4 separate regions of the Homo sapiens genome follow, and regions 2, 3 and 4 are each linked to region 1. Evidence: promoter capture Hi-C in 16 types of primary human blood cells and fetal thymus (Javierre and others, 2016). All regions are on one chromosome and are shown on one strand. Each heading gives the region's core, a stretch centred on a gene start or on the middle of the fragment in contact. The rest is flanking DNA. Distances are from core to core; before and after follow the strand shown.

Region 1 (3,986 bases), core at 1,217-3,716:
TGTCTCACACCTGTAATCCCAGTACTTTGGGAGGCTGAGGGGAGCAAATCACTTGAGGTTAGGAGTTCGAGACCAGCCAGGCCAACATGGCGAAACCCCCTCTCTACTAAAAATACAAAAATTAGCCGGGCCTGGTGGCGGATGCCTGTAATCCCAGTTACTAGGGCAGGAAAATCACTTGAACCCAGAAGACGAAGGTTTCAGTGAGCCAAGTTCACGCCACTACACTCCAGCTTGGGCAACAGAGCGAGACTCTATCTCACAAAAAAAAAAAAAAAAAAAAAAAGAAACTAACCAACCTTGAAACAAACTGCATTCTCAAAAGTCTTTAAAACCCAACAATATATGGTTGTCCTGCTCTTCTGCCAGTTCCTGTCTCACTACCTCTCCTTTCCTTCTAGGATGCTACTCCCTGCCTGTTCTCTTCTTCAGCCCTGCTCTGAACATTCTGTTCCTATTTTCACTGCCCCAACTCCAGACTACCTCCTACAACCCCAGGAGAACGCCCCCTCCCACTGCCTGGGGAGGCTCTCCTAAACTATAGCCTCTAGCCAGGCCAGCACATTGAGGTCATTGCTCTCCCTGCCAAATGACTGGCCTGAGTTCAGTGTCTCCATCTGTCTGAGCTTCATGGAAAACTTGATTGTTGCTCTAGGCTCTCTATTCTATGTCCTGCCTTAGCTATGTCCTGCTTTGCATCTGCTTTTTTGTTTCTTCTCCCAACACCCTTTTCTTCCCCTGACTCTCCTCAGACTAGAATCACATCTGTTTTCTAGTCTCAGCCCCTTCACTGGGGAGCAGATGGAAGAAGAGCAAGTTCTGGGGCAGGAAGATCAGGAAGAGCTGGGCGTAGCACTCAGCTTGTTCTGCGGACTGACCAGATTCCATGTATCTTAGAGATGTAGCACTTACAGCTCCCTCGGAGGTCCCAGAGGTGCTTACAAAGTGCGATTTGCTTATTTCTGTGTCCACTGCTCTTTTTTCCTCTCAACTAGACTCCTTCCTTCCTTCTTTCCTTCTTTCCTTCCTTCCATCATACCCCCTTTTATTTTCTTCTAGTATGTAATTTATTAATACTATCTGCTCTCTGTCTACCTGTACTCTTCTCTAATTTATTTCATCAGGGAGATATATAATGTAGACTAAAGGGGAGCCAACAGGAAACCTGAAACTTACATATTTCTATGGCATACAAGGTCCACCATTCCTCAGACTTGAGTTTCTGTAATTCAAGTTTGCTCTTGAATCCAAAGCGGGAATGTTTTAGTGGTTGAACCACTAGAGTCTCTGTGAATAAGAAGAAATACAAAGCCTTTAAAATTCCTGAATCAAGGCTGAGCAACATAGCAAAATCCTGTCTCTACAAAAAAATACATCTAAATTCGCCTGGCATAGTGGCATGCACCTGTAGTCCCAGCGACTTAGGAGGCTGAGGCAGGAGGATCACTTGAGCCCAGGTCAAGCCTGCAGTGAACTGTGATCATGCCACTGTACTCCAGCCTGGGTGACAGAGCAAGACCCTATCTTAAAAAAAAGAAAAAATCCTGGATCAGAGAAAGTGTTATCTACACATTATATGATCTAAGGAAAAATATTGGTAGAAAATGAGGCAAGCATAATAACCTTGCCTTTCAATTTTCTTTGGGCATCTGATTGCATTTTATCCTTAAGAGCCCAGAAACCCAGATTCTTAGTTAAGCTCAAACAAAGCCAAAAGACAAAGTAAGGCTGGCACCCCTTTCACAGAGCTTCTCTACATTTGAAAATGATTTGGAGAGTTCTGAAAAGTTCCTCAACTTTTTATAACCCTAAGGTAGCCAGCCTTCCTCTTGGACAAAACTCATAAGGTATCTGTGTTCGCTTGGTTGTGAGAATACATAGGATATTCCAAGGGGAAAAAAAACAAGAAGAGTCTAAATGTGTAGGTCAAGAAAGAGGCAGAGATGAAAAAGAAATACAGGAATAAAAAGAAATTTGTTAGTGCTGAAGAGACGAATATTGAAAAAGAAAGTGAGAAAGAAGGATGAAGGAATGATTCAAATATGGAATATAAGGAGGCTGAGGCAGGATAATTGCTTGAACTCAGGAGGCGGAGGTTGCAGTGAGCCAAGATCACATCATTGCACTCCAGCCTGGGTGACAGGAGCAAAACTCTGTCTTAAAAAAAAAAAACAAAAAACAAAGAAGAAGAAGATAGCCAGAGAGAGAGAAACAGCATCTATAATGTGCATTAAAACACACCAAGGAGGAGACGGAACTTTTCGGTAAGAAAGAACCCAAGGAACAAAGGGGAGCTGGGACCAGATCGTGAGAGGAGGGAAAATAGGCTAATGGAAGAAAGGCAATACATGAGCTGGGGCCAACACTTCCAGGGAGCAGCAAGAGCTCTCACCAGTGTAGTCATAACATTTGGAATGAGGGTGTGAGCAACTGCAAATTCCCATCTCCCTTCTCATTCCAGCCTCATTGTAACACACATTCTACGCCTAGCCTGGCTTTCTTGCTCTCCCTCATCTCATTGTTTCAGCGGAGGCCAAATCTGAAGTCCTTTCCAGGGAGTGGCTCTGTTCATCTTATTCGCCAGCCAAAGTAGGAACAGCGTAAGAGGAGAGAGACACATTCAGCAGCCAAAGGACTCGGTGGAAAGAGCAGAACACCATAGACAGTGAGTTATTTGATTACCTGAAACCCTAAAGAGACAGAGGGAATGTGTGTATGTCTGTGTGTGTGTGAAAGGGCTGGAGGGGGCAATGGGGAATGTCACTGAACTTAGTCTTGAGCAGACCTCCCAAATAACCGTGGAATTCTGATGAAGGAGACGCCAAGATGAGCAGATGATATGAAAAAGTCACGCATATGAGAAAGGAAGATTCCACATCAGGGGTGAAAGAGGCCAAAGGGTAGGGCCAAGTACGGACCATGTAGAATGTAAAATTTCCTCTGACTTGGTAGCAGAGAATAATAAAAGCAAGAATAATGGTAAGTGACCAAGGAATAGATTTGAGGGAGAAATGAATGTTGGGTGAAAGGTAAGAAAAGAGAGAAAGGGTTTGAGTCATAAGGGAAAATGAAGAAAGTTCTGGGAAGACAAAGAGACAGGGACCTCAGAGGCATCTTTCCCTGGCACTGAAATGCTGATGTGCCTCTGAGCATCACATTCTCTGCTATGCCCACCACCCCTATAGATATGTCGCTCTTGGGACCCAAGGTGCTGCTGTTTCTTGCTGCATTCATCATCACCTCTGGTGAGTCCTTTATTCTTTGCTCCCTAAACCCTCAGCTCCTCAGCTATACACGTGTGTGGCAGGAGATGGGATGGAATGAGGTCGAAGAGGAATAGCAGTAGAGATGCTTGGTATTGAGCTCTGGAATTCCTATTAGAAGAACAGATTTTGTGTTAAGAAAAAAAGTTCAGGAATGTGACTAGACTTCAGACTAGGGGAAAGGCCTCCCAAGAATTATGAAACTAAGGTGCAACTAAGATACACACAAATGCATATTAACCACCCAAAGAGGGTCACATATGAGTAAACAAATTGCAAAGCAAAAAAGAAGCTGATATACAAATGCATACACAAACATAGAGGAGGGACTACCTAGAAAGAAACTGGACCTGGGCTGGGCATGGTGGGCTCACACCTATACTCCTAGCACTTTGGGAGACTGAGTGGAGAGGATCACTGAGACCAACCTGGGCAACATAGTGAGATGAGTTAACCTCATCTCCATTAAAAAAAAAAAGGAAAAAAGAAAAAAAGAAACTGGACCAAATGTAAATCTTGAAGAAGAACAGTGGGAATACATACACTATTACCATCATGCATGCAGGTATACTCACATGCATGCAAAAAATATATGCCATACTGACACACAAGAGAAAAGTGATCTTCACAGATTTCCCAGAATCTGGCTAGAAGACTGGCCACAGAAAGTGAACTTTAGGCTGTAAAGATGTCCTACTCTATTTTTTTCCCTCCTTCTTCCGA
Region 2 (3,844 bases), core at 718-3,217, 230 kb before region 1:
TGGGCGTGGTGGTGTGCGCCTGTAATCCCAGCTACTCAGGAGGCTGAGGCAGGAGAATCTCCTGAACCCGGGAGGTGGAGGTTGCAGTGAGCTGATGAGCTGAGATCACACCATTGTACTCCAGCCTGGGCAACAAGAGTGAAACTCCATCTCAATAAATAAATAAATAAATAAAGTAATAATAATTTTAAAATAATTAAAATTTTTAGAAAGGAATTCTGCACTTTGGGTCTTATTTTCCTCATTTTTCAGTTGAAGAGACCTGATTGCATGATTTCTAAAGACATTTCCAATTCTAAGAAATTCTAATTCTATTTTCTGCCAATGATGGGCATTTCTTGAACTTTATCAAGAGTGCAGAAAATAGTCTTCACTCCATCTCCTGAGAACTAAAAAAGGTACAGGGTCTTGTCTCCCTAGGACCACTAACATGAGAGGCTCTCGCTGATGAGGGACTTTAGTCATAGGATGGATTCTTATGCATTTAGGATGGTGACTTCCTCACTTGGAAAGTCTATGTGTACATTCCTATTCAAAATATCTGGAAAGCTGGGCGCAGTGGCTCACGCTTGTAATCCCAGCACTTTGGGAGGCCGAGGCGGGCGGATCATGAGGTCAGGAGATCGAGACCACGGTGAAACCCCATCTCTACTAAAAATACAAAAAATTAGCCGGGCGTGGTGGCGGGTGACTGTAGTCCCAGCTACTTGGGAGGCTGAGGCAGGAGAATGGCGTGAACCCAGGAGGCGGAGCTTGCAGTGAGCCGATATTGCGCCCCTGCACCCCAGACTGGGGGACAGAGTGAGACTCCGTCTCAAAAAAAAAAAAAAAAAAAAAAATCTGGAAAGCAGACCACAAGATGTACAGAACAAATGGCGGAACACAGAAACCAGAAACACGGAGAAAAGTAATCTCGGTTCCAGAGAAGGCATAGGCTATCTCCCCTTACAAGAACAATCCTCCCACACCGCACCCCTCACCTGTCTCATTCCTGCTTATTCTTCATCTTGCAACTTGAGTGTCACTTCTGGGAATTCTTAATTCAGCCCAAAGATTAGGTTAGGTTCCCACAACCTGACTGTGCTTTGTCACATTCATCCCCCTAATGAAGGGCAGGCAGTGTTGCTCTCCCTCACTAAGCTGCAAGCCTGGGAAGGGCAGGGAGTGTGGTTGTCACATTCATCCTGTTCACTACTCAGTGGGTGCCCAACAGATTCGCACTTAATGAAGGCCCCTCTGCTGGCCTTCAGATTTCAGTGCTTATGGAATAATTATTTCTGTCCCCTGCCACTCAGCCCTGTACTCTGCTTTGTGATGGAAAAGAGGAAACCAGGAATAAGAAAATGTGCCCCACAGATTTTGCCAAAACCATAATCTGTTAGATAAATTGCTGAGAGGGAAAACACTAGAATACCTCAAACGGTAATTCCATTCAACACAAAATACGTAAATATACGTACTTTGGGAAAGTACATCACATATCACCACAGAGCAAACGCTGTTGGATCGCCATTATTTAAGGAATATCTCATACTCAGTTTCTGGATTTCTGCAACAACTGGTAAAGGGGAAAATATCACATTTCTTAAATTTATACATGTATAGGCTGGGCACGGTGGCTCACACCTGTAATCCCAGCACTTTGGGAGGCCGAGAGGGGAGGATCACTTGAGGTCAGGAGTGTGAGACCAGCCTGGCCAACATGGTGAAACCCTGTCTCTACTAAAAATACAAAAAAGTTGTCTGGGCTTGGTGGTGGGAGCCTATAATCCCAACTACTTGGGAGGCTGAGATAGAAGAATCACTTGAACCTGGGAGGCGGAGGTTGCACTGAGCCGAGATCGTGCCACTGCACTCCAGCCTGGGTGACAGAGCAAGACTCTGTCTCAAAAAAAAATAAAAAGATAAAAATAATAATAAAAGAAATTTATACATGTATAGTTGAATAAGCACAGAATATCTCTGAAAAGATATACCAGAAACTGAGAATTAGCCAAGCCCCACCCACACACTTTACTGCCTACATTAGCTTGACTTTGCTATTCTACTGTCTTTACCAACAAGACTTTAGTATTTCAGGAAGCCCTTGCCCCAAAAATAAAAGCTGTAATGGGAATGGGTAATGGGTACAAAAAAATAGAATGAATAAAATGTAGTATTTGATAGCACAACAGAGTGACTCTAATCAATAATAATTTAGTGTGCATTTTAAAATAACTAAAAGTACAATTGTATTATTATTTTTTCTTGAAACAGAGTCTCACTCTGTCACCCAGGCTGGAGTGCAGTGGCTCAGTCTTGGCTCACTGCAACCTCTGCCTCCCAGGTTCAAGCAATTCTCCTGCCTCAGCCTCCTGAGTAGCTGGAATTACAGGCGCCCGCCACCACGCCCGCCTACTTTTTGTATGTTCAGCAGAGATGGGGTTTTGCCATGTTGGCCAGGCTGGTCTCCAACTCCTGACCTCAAGTGATCTACCCACTTCAGCCTCCCAAAAGTCCTGGGATTACAGGCGTGAGCCACTGTACCTGGCCTAATTGTATTGTTTGTAACACAAAGGATAAATGCTTGAGGTCATAGATATCCCATTTACCCGGATGTGATTATTACACATCACACGCCTGTATCAAAACATCTCATGTATCCCATATACCTACTCTGCACTCACAAAATGAAATTTTTAAAAACTTTTTATTTCCATAGGTTATTGGGGCACAGGTGGTATTTGGTTACATGAGTAAGTTCTTTAGTGGTGATTTGTGAGATTTTGGTGCACCCATCACCCGAGCAGTATACACTGAACCCAATTTGTAGTTTTTTATTCCTCTCTCCCTTCCCACCCTTTCCGCCCAAGTCCCCAAAGTCCTTTGTATCATACTTATGCCTTTAATTTTTTTTAACTGAAAAAACTTTTTAAAATAAAACTTTTAAATAATGTTATTGTTCATTTCAGGAATATCCAGACAACGTATTTTAAATTGCTTAGCTTTCCAGTACAGTTATCAAATGATTATTCATGCTCCAAAACTTTTTTAAGCCCTCACCTTGCTAAATCATGATCCGTACCCAAACTTAATCAGAGCCCTTCACTGAAAGACCCACCTTAATCCAACCTAGAACCTCATAAATATCCTCCCTTTGCCCTCCCCTCCCAGATGCTGCTCAAGTTTCCGCAAGGCGGTGTGCTCCCTTGCTAAGACATGAATAAACTCCAGCTTTGCCTATCTGTGAGATTTCGGGTGGTGTATTTCAGGGCGCTGACATTTGGCAAAAGTAATAGTATAGGTTACATCCGAGGAGGGAACTGAGAGAAGAAATGTGGAAGGTGTCTCTTAGGACCTTTGAATTTTTACGTGGGCGTGTATTGTCTATTCGAAAATAAATGCTAAAACAAAACAAAAAGTTTAAAAGCAGGACACCATTGTGTAATCTCCTTTCTGACCAGAAGGTGGCGCCTCCACCTTTCCTGGGGCTGGGGAAGGGGAAAGCTGTAGAGAGGGGAGAAAGGTCCCAGTGAAACAACAGGGGCCTACATTGAGAGTGGAAATTTTACCTCCTGGCAAGAAAGGTCCAGAATCTCTCTTCACAATAATAGCTAATATTTATTGAATATATATTAAATGCCAATTAAGATTTTTAAAACAGGCCGGGCACAGAGTCTCAAGCCTGTAATCCGAGGACTTTGGAAGGCTGCAGCCAGTGGACAGCTTAAGTCTAGGAGTTTGAGAAAAGCCTGGGCAACACGGTGAAACCCTGTCCCTATTTTTTAAAAATAAAAAATGAAAGATTTTAAAACAGCATTCTTCTTTTTTTCTTTTCTTTTTTTTTTTTTTTTGAGACGGAGTC
Region 3 (3,884 bases), core at 440-2,939, 250 kb before region 1:
CTAGCAAATGTCACTGCAAACATGTATATTACCCAAAAAGTACATAGGAAAAATCATATCAGCTTCAACTAGTCTACCTTCTCCCCACATCTTTTGCCAAAATATCAAAGCACTAAACAGATACAGACCCATGAATCCTCATTATCAGCATGTGAAGAAAAAAAGTGGGTAAGGATTAGAGGCAGCACGGCACAGTTTTATAGATTACTGGATTTAGTTCACTGGACTCAGAGACACGAGACCCCTTTGCTAGGTATAGAGAACATAATTCCTACATTCACATGTGAAAATACAAACCGTATGACCCCTCGTCTTCCCAAACCTGAATTCTGATTAATAATTTTTTTTGGATTGTGAACTAGAAATAAAAATGTAAAGGGACCAACTTAAAAGTCTCAATAAAATCAAGGGAAACTGCCACCAAAACCAGGATTCCTGGATCCCGGGCACATAAATGTATTCATTTGTGATCAACATTATGACTACAAGATTAAATATAAAAAATGGAGACAACAAACAGTTTGGGCAGCACCAGGTATCAAAATTTTCCAAATTAAACTGGAAGACAGTGAGAAGCTGATCCACAGATGCCCCCAGAGTAGCTAAGCCATGGTCATCTTAAAAGGTAGCATGTGGGCATACATGGGGTTGGGTAGGCGCACAGACCTACCGAAGGGAGTTAGAATGGGACATTGAGGTGGACTTAGCATTGGGCCGAGAGTTGGAGAAAGTCAATATCCCTAAGCACGAAACTCTTATCATGCAGAAAGGATGGGACATAGGAAGGGGGACGGGAGAAGGGGGTGGTTCAGGGAAGACTGTGCCAAAGACACGGTAATAATCAAGAGAACAGGGAGTAGACGCCCAAGGGTCCTCGTTCTATATAGAACCTTGATGAAAATGATGTTTCAAAGAGAAATCAAATACACTGGGGGAAGGGGGTGGATCCAGTGGTGCGCCGGGAATGAACTGACCCAAGTGAGCTGGGACATGTGCATACAGAGAGCAGAGGCAGAAGTCAAGGAACTGGAGGCTGAGGAACCCAGCGGACCACGAAAGCAGGGAGATAACTAGACAGCATGCTCGGCTGGAAGGACCAAAGTCAGAGAAGGAAAAATGAATAAGAAAATGAGCAGTCAGAGGCAGCTAGGGTGACGGACAGACAGCATGAAGCGCAGCAGAATGAATAGCCAGAAGACTCGGACAGGCAGAGCCGAAGGACCGCAGAGCTCAGCGCCGGAGGTAGGCAGGGAAAGCAACTGGGGGAGGTACCTGGGGCGTTACACAGATGGAGGTGGCTGAGGATACATCCCCGCGCAGCCAAGCCCCCAGAGGTCCTGCCCCTCCCCGGCCCTCGGTCGCCCGGTTACCTTCTCGCCTGGCTGTGCACCCAAGTCTTCCCCGGGGGCGTCCACCTCATGTGCCGGGGTCCCCAGTCGCCAGGCTGGGCTGGGGGCTCGCTCGGCCTCCGCGGCGGGCTCCCCTCGCCTCCTCCCCTTCCTGGAGGGGCGGGGGCGCCGAGGGCGGGGTGGGAGGCGCCCGGCGCGACCGCGGCTCCCCGCCCCTCCCGCCGCTCCGGGTGCGGGCCCGGCCGCGGCTCAGCCAGGCCTCCGGGGCTCGCTCCGGGCCTGTCACTTCCTGCCCGGCCGAGAAGGTGGGGGCCGCAGGCCAGGGGCTGCGGGCCGGGCTGGAGGAGGGGGCTGCGGGGAGGTGCTTCCGGGGCAGCCGGACCCCCCCCCCGCCGTCCCTCCGCCTCCCCTCGGCGCCCTCCGCCCCCTCCCTCCCGCGCGTCCCTCGTTTCCTGCCGGCGCCCGTTGCCATGGCGACGCAGCTCCCGGGCCTCTGCGCTCCAGGCCCAGGGGTTTTTTCCTCTCTTGCTCTCTTTCTCCTCTTTTTTACCCCCTTCTTTCTCTCCGAGTTCTGCTCGCCGGTTGGAAGGACGAAACTAAGAAAGTGCTGGCCTCTAGTGGGGAACGCACCTCTCGGAGAGGAGAGGGAGATGGGAGAAGGGAGGGAAGTGACGTGAGACGGGGAGAAAGAAGGTATTTTCTGGAGCTGCTGGGAATAAGGGGTAGAAAGAAAGGATCAAAGGGACCAACAGACAGAGAGGGAGAAAGAGCAAAGCAACGACCCCTAGAGAAACGATAGACTGGGAAAAGAAATGAAGCAAAGGAAAGGAAGGAAAAGGCGAGAAAAACTTTGAGAATGAGAGAAAGGAGAGAGAAGGTTGATTGTTTAATCCCTCACCTCAACTCCAAGAAGGCGGGAAAGAATGCTGCAGAAACAGCTAACCCATTAGGAGTTGACTTCATTTTCAAAGCAGCAACCTAATGTAACTTCCTTTGGATAGCATTTAAGTTTGTCATTTCAGGGATTTGTGTGTGCTTCGATTTCAATATGTATATGAGTTCGAATGACAAAAACGGGAAAAGGCCAGAGTATAACGAGATGTAGAACAATGGGGCTGTCTCTGGGAACACTAAACATTTGATAGGGGAGCCGTTGTCGTTGTATTTATGATATCAACTTACCGGTTTTTAATTACTCTCTCATCGTTCAACATTCAATAAATATTTATAGAGCGTCTACTATGTGCTAAACCGTGGAAGCTTGGATTGCATCAGTGCACGAAACAAAGATAACTGCCTTACTGCCTTCATTAACCTTTACAGAAGGGTCTGGGGGATGCCTCGTGGATTAACAACTGGGATTGATGCCTTTTCTCTTGCTCTCAGTCTTTTCCTAACCTCTATCCTAAACAGTTATTTTCTCTGTCAATCCACTCTTCCTTTTCTCCTTTAAAAGCCCATGCATGGTTTGTTTATAGAGAAAAAAACAGAAGTGTTATCTTTGCTTATAAATTATATCCATTTAGATTTTGCTTTGAGAGAGGAGTATTTGGACTCCAAGGTCTTTCATTTGTGGCAGCCAGATTAAAATCGGAGAACAATTTCTGCCAGGCTTCTAGGAACTAGTCAGACAGGTATGTGAGGGAAGAAACCGGAGGGCAGCCAAAGGACTGGAAAAGCGAAGACACGGGGTATGAGGAGGTGAAAGGGTGTGTTACCAGGCCGTGGATGACAGGCACTGGCTGAGGATGATTTGAAAAGATTCTGACTGGTAGAACTAGTGGTGAAAACGAGGTAAAGCATTCGTTGTTTAATTCACACCTGGATTTTTGGCATGTCAAAGCAGTTAAAGCTTTCTTGCAGAAGTTTAGAAATGGATATCGATTGAGCCTAGGCGGAATTTTCTAGCACCAATGGAAAAAAAAAGCATCTATAGATAATTTTCAGATTATACAACATTAAAGTTAAGAAACATGACTCATGTGCTTCCTTAGTTTCCCTGGGAGAATTATCACTGTTAAGTGTCTAAAGAAGATTTGTAAGCTATAACAAGAATAAGGAATGCAGATATCAGAGGGTATGGACTTGTTTTTCTATAGCCTATGGAACTTGTGTACCAAGAGGGTACATGACCATATCGCATTTCACCCTCCTTACAAATGGAGCAGAATTACCGCTACTGCATATAGTTACATTCCACCCCTAAAGATTTTTTTTTTTTATTTACTAGGTCACCGGCTCCTATAGCTACTAGATAATGTTAGGGGATAAGCGATGAATACTTTTGTTGAGTGCCTGTTATAAATTTAGCCTGAGAATAATCTATCATGAGGCGAGCTATACTGATTATGGGCCAGTAGTTTAATTTTTATATGTAAAGGTGTGTGCTCCATATATCACAGGATTCTTTTCAAGTTCATTTTTCTCCAAGTCAGGCCAGTGTTCTAAGGTCATAGGTCTAAACAGTTCCCACCAAAAAAGATTTAGTATAAAAAAGAAATATATCAACAGCAAAGTAAAGTTATAGGAAAGCCT
Region 4 (3,976 bases), core at 1,407-3,906, 160 kb before region 1:
TCCAAAAGACAAACAATAATAAATGCTGGTGAGGATGTGGAGAAAAGAGAACCCTCATACACTGTTGGTGGGAATGTAAATTAGTACAACCACTATGGAGAACAGTTTGGAGGTTTCTGAAAAAAACTAAAAATAGAGCTTCCATATAATCCTGCAAGCCCACTGCTAAGTATATATACAAAAGAAAGGAAATCAGTATATCAAAGACTATCTGTGCTGCCATGTTTATGGCATCAGTATTCACAATAGCCAAGATATGGAAGCAACCTAAGTGTCTATGAACAGATGATAAAAAATGGATTAAAAAATGTGGTACACATACATAATGGAGTACTATTCAGCCATAAAAAAGAATGAGACCCCATCCTTTGCAACAGCCTGAATGGAACAGGAGGTCATTATGTTAAGTAAAATAAACCAGACACAGAAAGACAAACTTTCCATGTTCTCATTTATTTGTGGGAGCTAAAAATTAAAACAATTGAAGTCGTGGAGATAGAGAATAGAATAATAATTTTTAAGTGTGTGGAAAAAAATAAGGTAAAAGGAAAAAAATTTTTTTGAAAGAGAGAGAGAGAACAGAATGATGGTTACCAGATGCTGGGAAGGGTAATGGTGGGCAGGATGAGGGGTGGGGTGGGAATGGTTAATGGGTACAAAAATATATTTAGCTAGAATGAATAAGATCTAGGGATCTTGTAGTTTTTAGCACAAAGAGTGACTACAGTCAACAATAATTTATTGCACATTTAAAAATTACTAAGAGAGTATAATTGGATTGTTTGTAATACAAGGAAATGATAAATGCTTGAGGTGATGGATACACATGTACCCTGATGTAATGATTACACATTGTGTGTGTGTATAAAAATATCTCATCTACCCCATAAATATATATACACCAGCTATGTACCCACAAAAATTTTAAATAAAAAAATAAAAAAAACCCAAACATAGTTTCTTTTCAGGGTGCCTGACTTTGAAATCTCAGAATGAAGTGCCCCTGTAAGGACGAATGAACAAATACAAAAAAAAAAAAAAAAAAAAAAAAAAACCCCAGTAGCTCAAGCCAAATGCCCTCAGTGCTTTCTTAGCCATTTACAAGCAGTTTGTTGTAAGGCCCAGCAACCCAGTTATACTTGCCAAATTCTATTCCAGAAGAAATGTGTACTTTTGTTTTAGATACACAAACTCAGTAGCAACCCCCACCTACTTCTCTTGCTTGTGTAGCGCAGCATGTATTCAACACTTGCACTACTTAATCCCCCCAGATTTTCCTCTCCTCTGCACTCCTTTTTTTCCAAAGCCTACTGTCAAACCACAAATCCCCTCTTTACCCCTGTGCACAGCGGTTTCCCCAGGTTTTAGTCGAACCCCAAATATGTGACTCTTACCTTGCTGCCCTGGGGTGTAGAGAGGTTTGTCAGTCTGTACAAAGGTGCCGTTCCCCTGCCTCTGAATTAGAACCTTTTTCTTCTCCTCAAAGCTGATGTTATTTCCAACTCCCGACACCCGGATTGTGGCCACTTCTTCTGTGCCACCAGCAGGAGGTGGTACCTGACCAAGAAAGGGGACTTCTGGGGAGGGGTAAGGGATTGGGGGAACAGAATCAACTGGTCTCAACCCAACAGTGAGTTAAAGGAAAGAGCTGAGTTAGATGGGGGTAGCAAGGATAGAGACATAAAACAAATTACCACGAGGAAGAATTAAGGTCAGGAACTAAAGGGAGAAATCCTAGGTCGAGGAAACCGTGGGTGAGTTATAGCCGGGGATTGAGGTTAAGTTGAGAAAAAATAGGTTTAGAGGCCGTGGCAAAAGATAACAGAAATTATACTTAAAGTAGATTATAGTGAGCCTAGGGAGGAGAATAGGCAAGTAAGGGATTCGAGTGAGGGCTGAGTCTGTGCTTACAAGAAAGGAGATACAATGTAAGTGCCTCTTCTTCAGTCCAGAGTATTCTAGCAACTTCTGGGTCTTGTCCTTGGTCTCCAGAGTAACCGTGAATTTAACATCACTGTACCCAGGGCTCAGGTCCAAACAAACCTTCTGAACGGAGGGGAAATTTAGCCGGGCTGGTAATGTCACCAGGTAGTTTCTATTAAAGGAGCAGAAGGATTTCAGGGCAATAATGATTCATTCACTCGAAAAATCCAGCACTCTCCTAAGCGCTCAGCAAGTAGCAGTGAATTAGACAGACCAAGCCCCTGCCTTCCTTATGCACCTCATTTTCTACAAGAAGCAGAGGGGCAACGACTCAGTGCACAGTCTTCAACTTCCGCCATCAGGAGGCCCTCACCGAGCACACATGCCTAGAGCACCAAGGAGGAAATTAGGCCTATTTCAGAAAACAGGGCACATTTTAATATTTATCTTTTTTAAAGCTTCCTCTTCATGCGTCAGCCTCCCTCTCTGGGTAAAGGATCAGTGGAACCAAAGAAGAGAAAAAAGGAGGAGGAAATTAAGATAAACCAAAGTTGATCTCCCCATCTCCATATAAATGTTTGAGAAAGTTAGGCGAAGAAGCCGCTGCCCTAATAAACCAATTCTGACACCAAGCACTCACGGAAGTTCTTCTGCAATGGCTGGTGATAGGGCCAACATTCCTAGAAGGAGCTGAGCCCACATCTTTGTGGGTGAGACAGATTTTTCCAGGGTCAGGGGCAGAGATCGCTCCGCGTAGCTTTATATACTAATTCCAGGTAGGGTGTGCAGTGATGACTGATGCTATAGTCAGTCACCTCCTGGCACCTGGAACACAGGAGGACTGTGTTCCTCCTTCTGTAACCACCAGGTTAGGTGGTGGACCAGGGTAGGGCCACTATTCACTTCTTTAAAGTTGTTTCTGCCTGGAACATCCATACTGGTTCAGCCAGTTTTGGGGGAAAACCAGAGCTGAGTATTCATAATGGTAAAGCTCTCAGAACATATTTTGAACTCCTCCCTTTTTTTCTGGTCTCATTCCAATTCCTGTTCTCATTTAATGTCCTTATTTTCTTTTATTATTCAATTAAGGTGTAGTTGGGAACACGGGTATGAGAACAGTTTCAATAGAAAAGCAGTAAACTTGGCCGGTCACAGTGGCTCACGCCTGTAATCCCAGCACTTTGGGGGGTTGAGGTGGGCAGATCACCAGGTCAGGAGTTCAAGACCAGCCTGGCCAACATAGTGAAACCCTGTCTCTACTAAAAATACAAAGAAAAAAAAATCAGCTGGGCATAGTGGTGGGTGCCTATAGTCCCAGCTACTTGGGAGGCTGAGGCAGGAGAATCGCTTGAACCCGGGAGGTGGAGGTTGCAGTGAGCCGAGATCATGCCACTTTACTCCAGCGTGGGTGACACAACGAGACTCTGTCTCAAAAAAAAAAAAAATTAATACTACTCAGTATTGTTGTGACTGTATGGAAATAGGGACACACACAGTCCTAGAGAAAATAGAATGTGGATAACTTTCTCATGGCAATTTTGTAATACACACCAAAGCCTTTGAGATTTGCATATTCTTTCACTCAGCAACTCCTACTCTGGAAATGTTTCTTAATGAGGAAAAAAAGGACAGCATGCATGTATGCACAAGTGTAACACTGAGTTTTTTCACACTGTTCTTTCTTTTTTTTCTTTTCTTTATTTTTTATTTTTTTGAAGTAGAGTCTCACTTTATCACCCAGGCTGGAGTGCAGTGGCACAATCTCAGCCCACTGCAGCTTTGACCTCCTGGGCTCAAGCGATCCTCCCACCTCCACCTCCTGAGTAGCTGGGACCACAGGTAGGCACCAACACTCCTGGCTAATTGTTTTGTATTTTTAATAGAGACAGGGTTTCACCATGTTGCCCAGGCTAGTCTCGAACTCCTGAGCTCCAGGGACCACCTCAGCCTCCCAAAGTGCTGGGATTACAGGTATGAGCCACCGTGCCCAGCCCACAGTGTTCTTTATGATGGTAATACTTAGAAGTCACCTAAAATATAAATTAGTCTAAGT

What was found. Contacts are between HindIII fragments. The CHiCAGO score rates a contact against its expected background, and 5 or more counts as called.
Region 2: a fragment that was not itself captured here is called in contact with the fragment with the promoter of MFAP5 in region 1 in 3 of 17 cell types (M1 macrophages, M0 macrophages and monocytes); the score reaches 6.6 in M1 macrophages.
Region 3: a contact is called between the fragment with the promoter of PHC1 here and the fragment with the promoter of MFAP5 in region 1, in 15 of 17 cell types (M1 macrophages, non-activated CD4 T cells, M0 macrophages and 12 more). The highest score is 8.6, in M1 macrophages.
Region 4: a contact is called between the fragment with the promoter of A2ML1 here and the fragment with the promoter of MFAP5 in region 1, in 17 of 17 cell types (endothelial precursors, naive B cells, total B cells and 14 more). The highest score is 21.0, in endothelial precursors.

The regions. Positions count from the first base shown.
Region 1 is chr12:8,661,306-8,665,291 of GRCh38, reverse strand. MFAP5 (microfibril associated protein 5) reads left to right here and starts at 2,466. Exons shown (of 10, transcript NM_003480.4): 1 at 2,466-2,665; 2 at 3,186-3,245. The coding sequence starts at 3,188. The HindIII fragment of the contact is 12,173 bases long and covers 1-3,986 here.
Region 2 is chr12:8,890,348-8,894,191 of GRCh38, reverse strand. No RefSeq gene overlaps it. Among named protein-coding and RNA genes, the nearest start is that of PHC1, 22 kb to the left of the region's middle. The HindIII fragment of the contact is 4,563 bases long and covers 1-3,844 here.
Region 3 is chr12:8,912,314-8,916,197 of GRCh38, reverse strand. PHC1 (polyhomeotic homolog 1) reads right to left here and starts at 1,689. Exons shown (of 15, transcript NM_004426.3): 1 at 1,371-1,689. RefSeq lists silencers at 1,238-1,527, 1,598-1,647, 1,698-1,807. The HindIII fragment of the contact is 8,234 bases long and covers 1-2,611 here.
Region 4 is chr12:8,821,301-8,825,276 of GRCh38, reverse strand. It overlaps A2ML1 (alpha-2-macroglobulin like 1), which reads right to left and starts at 2,656. Exons shown (of 36, transcript NM_144670.6): 1 at 2,564-2,656; 2 at 1,912-2,095; 3 at 1,395-1,557. The coding sequence starts at 2,625. All of the region lies in intron 1 of A2ML1-AS1 (A2ML1 antisense RNA 1), which reads left to right. The HindIII fragment of the contact is 3,171 bases long and covers 2,384-3,976 here.